Regions from separate parts of the Homo sapiens genome. Here region 2 is linked to region 1. The links are contacts of gene promoters, found by promoter capture Hi-C in blood cells and fetal thymus (Javierre and others, 2016). All regions are on one chromosome and are shown on one strand. The core of a region is centred on a gene start or on the middle of the fragment in contact, and the rest is flanking DNA. Distances in the headings are between cores, read along the strand shown.

Region 1 (4,078 bases), core at 449-2,948:
AAGCATTCAAGCCCTCTCTTGTCTGGCTGCAACCTACCTTATCAGTATTAATAACTTTGCCTCCGTCTTGCTACCTACCTCTTGTCAGTCGGGACTCTTGATTACATGTGAAAGAAAACCTCTCACTGGTTTAAGCAATAAAACAGATGCAAGAATTTACTGACTGGTTTAACGAAATTTCCAGAGGAATCTAATCTACATTTGTTTCCAGGCCTCAAACATGTCTTTAGGCCAAACCTGTCTTCAAATCTGCTTTTTTTCCGTGTTGCCTTCTTTCTCAGAATTCACGTGTGGAAAGATGGCTCCAGGTCTCCATTCTCCCAGATTTAAACCCATTGGTAAAGACGTAACACCCTTCTTAGGAACCGTAGTTTGCAACCGAGGATTAAACTCAAATATGCCTTCCCCTTGTGTCCTGCTCAGACCATATGGACTGAGAGTGGATAAATGATAGTTCTTCAAAAGAAATTATCAGAATAGGGAATGAATGCTGAACAGGCAAAAATGTCGACCAAAATATCTTCTGCTATATGATGGGGTAAATTAACAAATCATGTTTTCCCACTCCTGAAAGAAAAATCCTTAGGTGCAGGATCAAGGATCTGAATAAGTGCTTCAGTTTGATGTTCTTTTGCCCAGAGCATACAGCAAGAATTGAAAATGTTTACTGAGGTGACTGTTACTTTAAAGGGAGGATTTTACGGCCAGAAAAGTGCATTTTTTGAAAGAAAAAGATGGCTTTTATTTCAAATCCAAAAGATATTCATTAAAACATAGGAATTACTAGGAATTAAGACTGTAAAGATCTCTTTTCCAGTAGAAGCACTGAAATGTGCTTTCTCATGTGGACCAAATGTGCCTTAACGCATCAAGATAAGTAATTTCCCGAAGATAAGTAGTAGTCACACGTTGTTCCAACGAGGAAATCCATGCAAATTAGGGTCCTGGTTTATTTCTGATGCTTCATTCTCCATCTTCCATTACACTGTCACTTGATTTTTAATAAAAGGGCAAGGGAAAAATCTCCAAATGAGCAAATAAATCCCGACCTCCTTTCGCTTCCCTCCTCTGGCCGAGGGCGCATGCCCTGTCTCCCCAGGCCCACCCACCAAGAAGAAGCAACCCAAGCCGCGCTCCCTCAGGAGATGGGAGAAGATGTTACTGGCGGTCCAGGCGCCTTTGCAACTCTTCTCTCCCAGCACCAGGAGAGGAAACACGAATGATGCCACTGGGGGAAAAAGTCTCCTGCCAACACCCGAAAAATCTAAGCTGGCGTCGGCAGTGTTTTGCTTTGGAAGGGAGAGCGGGTTCCTTTTCTGGCCTCTGGATCCCTCATCCGGCAGGAAGCTCTTCTTCCTCCTCCTAGCCCCCGGCATACGGGGGGAAAGCCAAAGAGCCTCCAGGACCTAAGGCTAGCGCTCTGCCGGCCGGCCGCGCCCTCCACCCGACCAGGCCCCGCCTCCCCGGCTTTCTAGTAACCGGCGCCGTTCCCGGCCGGGGCAGGGAACGGTGCGCCTGCAGAGCCAGATTTCGGCCCAAGGGGCGCGGGAGTCTCTTCGGGCGTCCGGGATCCCCTGGCGCGGCTCCGTGCTGCCTAACGGGGCAAGTCGCATGCGCACCGAGCCGCGCTGGGGAAAGGGAGAGTGAGGGGAGGGGCGAGCGCAGAGCCTCCGCCGGCCGTCTGAGCCCGCGGGGTCGCTGACGACGCATGCGCCGGGAGGGGGCGCAATCACGGACTCGGCTTGCGGCTGCCGGTTTAAAAAAGGAAACCCCGGAGAGCGAGAGCGCGAAGGAAATCTGGCCGCCGCCGCCGCGAGCGCTCCCGGTGAGAGGCGCCCGCCCGGTGGGCCCAGGGCCTGCCGAGTGCCGGTTGGCTTCCTTGGCGGCGCATGCGCGCTCCTGGGCTGGTGGAGGAGGGGAAGGGAAGGGAGGGGGAGGAGGAGCTGGCCACAGGAGCGGCGAATTTTTGGGGGGGTGGGTGGGGGGCGCCACTCACAGCCCCAGGTGCTGCTGGAGGTGGGAGCCGCGGCGCCTCCTGGACACAGGCGGGGTAGTGGTTCCGAGTCACCGCAGCGGGAGACCTGGGTGGGGGAGGGAAGAAGCCGGAGCCGCCGCAAGCCACACGGTGAGGGCGCGGGGAAGGGGAGGGAGCGGGGGGCGGCGTGTGTGGGGCCGGGGGGCGGCGGCCAAGGGTGGGGAAGGCGGGAGCTGAAGCCCAAGTTTGGCGTGTCGTTCTAGTGTGTCTTTTCCCGGGACTTCGGGCCGAGGCCCGCCCTGCCTGAGAGGCCCTCTGGGGCAGCTGGGGTTACCTGCGGGGCAGGGGCGGGAGTGGGGTGCACGGCGGGGCCGGGCGGCTTGAGGGCGCCCGGAGCTGCGGCCGATTCCAGCAGCTGGGAGGCGGGGAAAGACGGGGACCGGGTGCCGAGAGAGCTTTCGCTGGGGACCCGCTAGGCCTTGTGACCCACTTTATTCCTGTCACCACTCGGGCACGTTTGGAGCAGCGCCCAATGGGGCGCCGGGGCGGCCAGCTCCTCCGGGGAACCCCCGCCCTCCCGGCGCCCGGCCCGCGTGCCGCAGTCCGCAGTCCGAACGGCCGCCGTTGCCGGCCGCGGGCTGGTTCCGTTAGTGGTGGTGGTTCCGGGGTTCCGTTCCTAGGCAGCGCGCGGCTATTAGCGTCTGACTCCAGCGACCGCGCGCGGGTTCGAGGGTTGGCGGCGAGGCGCTCGGTTTCTCTTCTTCCGTCCACCCGCGCTTCCCGTTCCCCGTCACCGCCGCTGGCGTTTGTAGATTTCTTTCCGCCAGTGAAGCTGGGTTTTCTGGAGTTGGCTCTGGCGCTCTGGCCCCTGGAGTGTAATTTCCTACACGCAGCGCCGCAGAGTTTATATTCTTTGAAAGTGTTTGTAGCTTTGTAGAGGTCCTCTTGTTGATGGTAGGTGAGCCTAATTCTGCAAGATAAAAGCCTAGTCTCTGACCTGGCAGATGAAAGATCAAATCAGATTGTGGTTTCCTGCTATTAGAATGCCGTGCTATTAGACTTTAAGGCTTTTTAGCCTTCTTTAAAAAATAAAAAAATTTTTACAGTGGAAGAAAAGCACAAGAAGTAAACTTTTACAGTCGTTGATTTGACTATAACGCTGATCCCCCCAAATCAAAGGTAATTTCACTTTGAAGATTGCGTTCTGATTTGTAGCTTTAAGCGATTAGAGAAAATTGTGCAATATTCCCCTCTACCTGTTTGAAAATAAACATTCTTAAAAGGATGTAATTTAGATAATGAATTGCTTTCTCTGAAACTTATCCCTTGGGACACCTCAAATCTGATTGGTTTTCAAAGCTTGGGGGAAGGAAATTAATTCCTGTGATAAGTGGTTGGCTGAACAGAATGTCTTGAAAGGTTAGCCTGTAGCATTAGGAGAAATACCTAATGTAAACGACGAGTTAATGGGTGCAGCACACCAGCGTGGCACATTTATACATATGTGACAAACCTGCACGTTGTGCACATGTACCCTAGAACTTAAAGTATAATAATAAAAAAAGTAAAAAAAAAAAAAGTTAGCCTGAAGAAAGCAGACTGAAAATGTTCTAAAGCTAGGCGTAATCAGTTATGAAAAAAGAATAAGGAAGCTTTCTACGTACTAACATGCAAAGATTGCAAAAATTTGCTATGAAGTGAAAAAAGCAAGGTGTAGCGGTACTTTGTGAATAGTGTGTTACATCTTAAGGGCGAGGTGTAATAATACAAGTTTATGTTTGCTCTTTATATAAAGAAATTATGGGAGGATTTAGAAAACTAACAATAGAGGAGAGGGAGAAATAGTCTGAGGGAATGGTGGGAAATGAGATGTATTATGTGTATGTCTTCATGTTTTCAAATTTTTGTGTGTATTATGGACTCATAAACTGGATTAAACAAAAATCCTCCTCCCCCAAATAATTTGTGTGATTTTTGTTGCCTAATTTATGGTGATTTGAGTCATTTTCAATATGATTGCTTTTCATATTTTTTAGGAAAATCAACTAAAAAGGAAGTTTGGGATACCTTTTATGACTATTTACACTTTAATTTTTAAGATTG
Region 2 (4,078 bases), core at 1,082-3,581, 230 kb after region 1:
CTGGAAAACCCCTTAACTTTTCAGCCTTAATTTCCTCCTATGGAAATGCAAACATCATCTGCCTTGATAACCTTAAGTTGTGGTGAGAATCATATTAGGTAATGGAAAGGAAAGTGCTTTGTAAATGGTTGAGTGCTATAAATATAAAGTCTAATGATAATAATAACATACAGAATTAATTCATCTTGCATCGATGGATTTCTGCAGATCTGAGGTTTGGCTCACTGATGAAATCTTGTTTCCTTTTCTTTGTTAAATAACAGATGGGAGGACTTGGTCAGCCTCCATCAGACGGAATTAGTCATATTCCAATGTAGAAGAGCCAGCCAGCACCTTGCTCTCAGGGCCTCAGCTCTTACTCTCTACATATCTATATTGTGAAAAGTACACAGTGCAGTCCCCACCCAAGCCACACGCTAGACAACTTACCTAGGCTTTCTTATGAACTCTCTGCTTTACAGGAGAGAAAACTGAGAATCCAAAAATGAAGATACTCACTCAAGTTCACACAGCTATTAAGTTATAGGGCCAGGATTCTAAGATAAGGACCCTTTTTTCTCATGGGGAATATAGAGGTATGGTTTTCCCTGCCTTACCTTCCCCTTCTCCTTCCTCTTCCTCCTTGCCCTCTTCCCTCCTGCTCCCTCTCTTCCTCTTTCCCCCTGCTTCTCTTTCTCGTGATATGAAGCTTTCTTCACCAAAGAAGCAGGAGAAGTTTAAAAGGATTAAAACACAGGCGAGCCTGTGGAAAGCAGTTTGGCAATTTCTCAAAAAACTTAAAACAGAATTACTATTCGACCCAGCAATCCCATTATGGGGTGCATACCCAAAGGAATAGAAATCGTTCAACTGTAAAGACACATGCACATGTATGTTCATTGCAGTACTATTCACGATAGCAAAGACATGAAATCAATCTAATATCCATCAGTGGTAGGCTAGGTAAAGAAACTATGGCACATATACATCATGGAATACTATGCAGCCATAAAAAGAGCAAGATCATGACCTTGGCAGCAACATGGATGGAGCTGGAGGCCATTATCCTAAGCAAACTAACACAGGAACAGAAAACCAAATACCACATGTTCTCACTTATAAGTGGAAGCTAAACATTGAGTACACATGGAGACAGAGAAGAGAACAAGAGCCACTGGAGCTTACCTGAGAGTGAAGAGTGGGAGGAAGGAGAGGGTTGAAAAACTACCTGTTGGGTACCATGCTCATGACCTGGGTGATGAAATAATCTATATGCCAAACACCCACAAGACATAATTTACCTATATAACAAACTTGTACATATATCCTTGAAACTAAAATAAAAGTTAAGAACAGACAGGTGAGCAAAAGTTGAAACTCTTTGCTAAATATGGCTTTTCAAGTATCCTGAGGAGAGCACCAAAGAAGTGAACCTGTGAATACATGGAGTTTCTTGGTGAGCATATCCCACATGGGTTTGTGACTTTCTCTGTAAGAGCTTCTTTCTTTTAAAAATGTTGTTCATATAAATTGCATAAAAATACATGAATACATTTTCATTGTAAATTTTAAAATTGAACATTACAGGTAAAGTTAACATCCCTTTTGACCTCCTTTTTCTCAGTCCCTTCCCCAGAGGTTGCTGTCATTTTAGTATGTATGTTTTTAGAACTTTAAAAATTAGTTTATACACATTTATCTAGATCTAGATAAATATATATATCAATTGTATATGTATCAATTGTACTTATCATTCTATAGTTTGTTGAAAAATATTTATTCAATAACATAATTTGGAGATATTCCCACATCTGGACACAAACATCTGCTTCATTCTTTTACTGACACATAGTGTGAAGCCATTGTAATTTAAGCATTTCCCTACTGATGAACCTTTTTTTTTTTTTTTTTTTTTTTAAGACGGAGTCTCACTCTGTCACCAGGCTGGAGTGCAGTGGTGTGATCTTGGCTCACTGCAACCTCCGCCTCCCAGGTTTAAGTGATTCTTCTGCCTCAGCCTCCCGAGTAGCTGGTATTACAGGCATGTGCCACCACGCCCAGCTAATTTTTGTATTTTTAGTAGAGACAGCATTTCACCATGTTGGCCAAGATGTTTCAATCTCTTGACCTTGTGATCCGCCCACCTTGGCCTCCCAAAGTGCTGGGATTACAGGCATGAGCCACCGCTCCTGGCCTTACTGATGAACTTTTAAAGGCGGTTTTCATTCTATTGTAAACAGTGCTCCAATGAAAAACTTATACACATATGTGGGTGTTTCTCTAAGGTGGATGCTATAATACTGGTTGGTTGGCTCCCATCCACCACTTAACCTCTGTTCTCAAAAGGGAGTTACCATGATCTGTTGGGGTTTTCTAATTTCAGCAAATTGTCAGTTGTATACATTATAATTTTCATGATCTTTACTTTTGTGCTTTTGTGACAGTACAGATTAAAAAATATGGTTTGCATTACTCTTAGAATAATCAACCCTGCACTTGACATGGTTGAGGGGCATGTGTGTATAGTTTATAGATTAATAGTATAGTCCGAATTGCCCTCCAAAGTGGCTATACCAACATATGCTCCTGCCAACACTGTCAAGAAAACTCATTTCCTCAAGTCCTCCCCAACATCTGATATTTTTCGACATTACACATTTTGCCAATCTAATGGAATGAAGAAAAATAACATTTCATGGACGGGTGCAGTGGCTCACACCTGTAATCCCAGCACTTTGGAAGGCCAAGGCAGAGCGATCACTTGAAGTCAGGAGTGCGAGACCAGCCTGGCCAACATGGTGAAACCCTATCTCTACCAAAAATACAAAAATTAGCTGGGCATGATGGTGCACGCCTGTAATTCCAGCTACTCAGGAGGCTGTGGCAGGAGAACTGCTTGAACCTGGGAGGCAGAGGTGGCAGTGAGCCAAGATCGTGCCACTGCACTCCAGCCTGGGCTACAGAGTGAGACTCCATCTCAAAACAACAACAAGAACAACAACAACAAATTTCATTGTTGGTTTAATTTGCATCTTTATTCTGCTTTTCTTCTTAGGCAAAAATGTCCTCATTAGGGAGTTCTTATGTCCTTATCAAGCAGTGGGGAGTCCATCCCCAGATCTGTTCTATCCCAGCACCCCTGGGTGTGGGCTGGAGAAGATGCCTGGAACAGTGCGGAGGTCTGGAGCTCCACATGTGCACACCTCTCCCCCAGGGCTCAGCTCCTATTTTGCAACTTCTGATAGCTTGCCTATCCATGATCCAGCTCTAGAATATTAGGATATGTTTAGAAATGCTGTAAAATGATCACATGCCAGCTCTCCCCTTGTTTTCCTATTTATACATACTGTATGTTATGCCAGATATGCCAATTGTGTTTAAATTGAGGACCTACACTGTGGAATTTTTTTTTTTTTTTTGAGATGGAGTCTCACTCTATTGCCCAGGCTGGAGTGCAGTGGTGCGATCTCGGCTCACTGCAAGCTCCACCTCCTGGGTTCACACCATTCTCCTGCCTCAGCCTCCCGAGTAGCTGGAACTACAGCCACCTGCCACCATGCCCGGCTAATTTTTGTATTTTTAGTAGAGACGGGGTTTCACCATGTTGGCCAGGATGGTCTCAATCTCTTGACCTCATGATCCACCCTCCTCGGCCTCCCAAAGTACACTGTGGAATTTTAACAAAACAGAAAAGTTTTGTGATTATGAAAGTACTAAGTGTACATTATTTAAAACTTGAAAAGTTAAAGAAGTAGAAAGCTATCTTCCATGTACAGGCAACCATTGTCTCATCTTAACCATTGTTAAGATGAAAATAGATGTTTTGAGGAAAACACAGTTTCAGGTGCAAGCATATCTACCTTTTATCTAGATTTTACAAGTGCCTGCTATAACCATTTTTTAAACATTCAGGAAGGTAATTTTCTTATTTCCCCTATTAGGTTGTTTATGAGTGTGTTTGTGCTTTGCTCATTCCGATTCTCACACAAGCTTTGAAAAGCTCAATAATCTGTGAAACTATCTTGGCTGAACTGGACTTCAGACCCAGAGGTGCCACATGTCCTAGGAGTAGACAAGCCTCTTAAACTTCCCTAGAGGG

What was found. Contacts are between HindIII fragments. The CHiCAGO score rates a contact against its expected background, and 5 or more counts as called.
Region 2: a contact is called between a fragment that was not itself captured here and the fragment with the promoter of CLOCK in region 1, in 6 of 17 cell types (naive CD8 T cells, activated CD4 T cells, naive CD4 T cells and 3 more). The highest score is 7.1, in naive CD8 T cells.

Annotation. Positions count from the first base shown.
Region 1 is chr4:55,544,529-55,548,606 of GRCh38, reverse strand. CLOCK (clock circadian regulator) reads left to right here and starts at 1,698. Exons shown (of 23, transcript NM_004898.4): 1 at 1,698-1,825. LOC124900704 (a long non-coding RNA gene) reads right to left here and starts at 2,742. Exons shown (of 2, transcript XR_007058122.1): 1 at 1,997-2,742; 2 at 718-991. RefSeq lists silencers at 1,423-1,792, 1,853-1,952, 2,073-2,702. The HindIII fragment of the contact is 4,589 bases long and covers 1-3,336 here.
Region 2 is chr4:55,314,572-55,318,649 of GRCh38, reverse strand. No RefSeq gene overlaps it. Among named protein-coding and RNA genes, the nearest start is that of SRD5A3, 30 kb to the left of the region's middle. The HindIII fragment of the contact is 3,281 bases long and covers 691-3,971 here.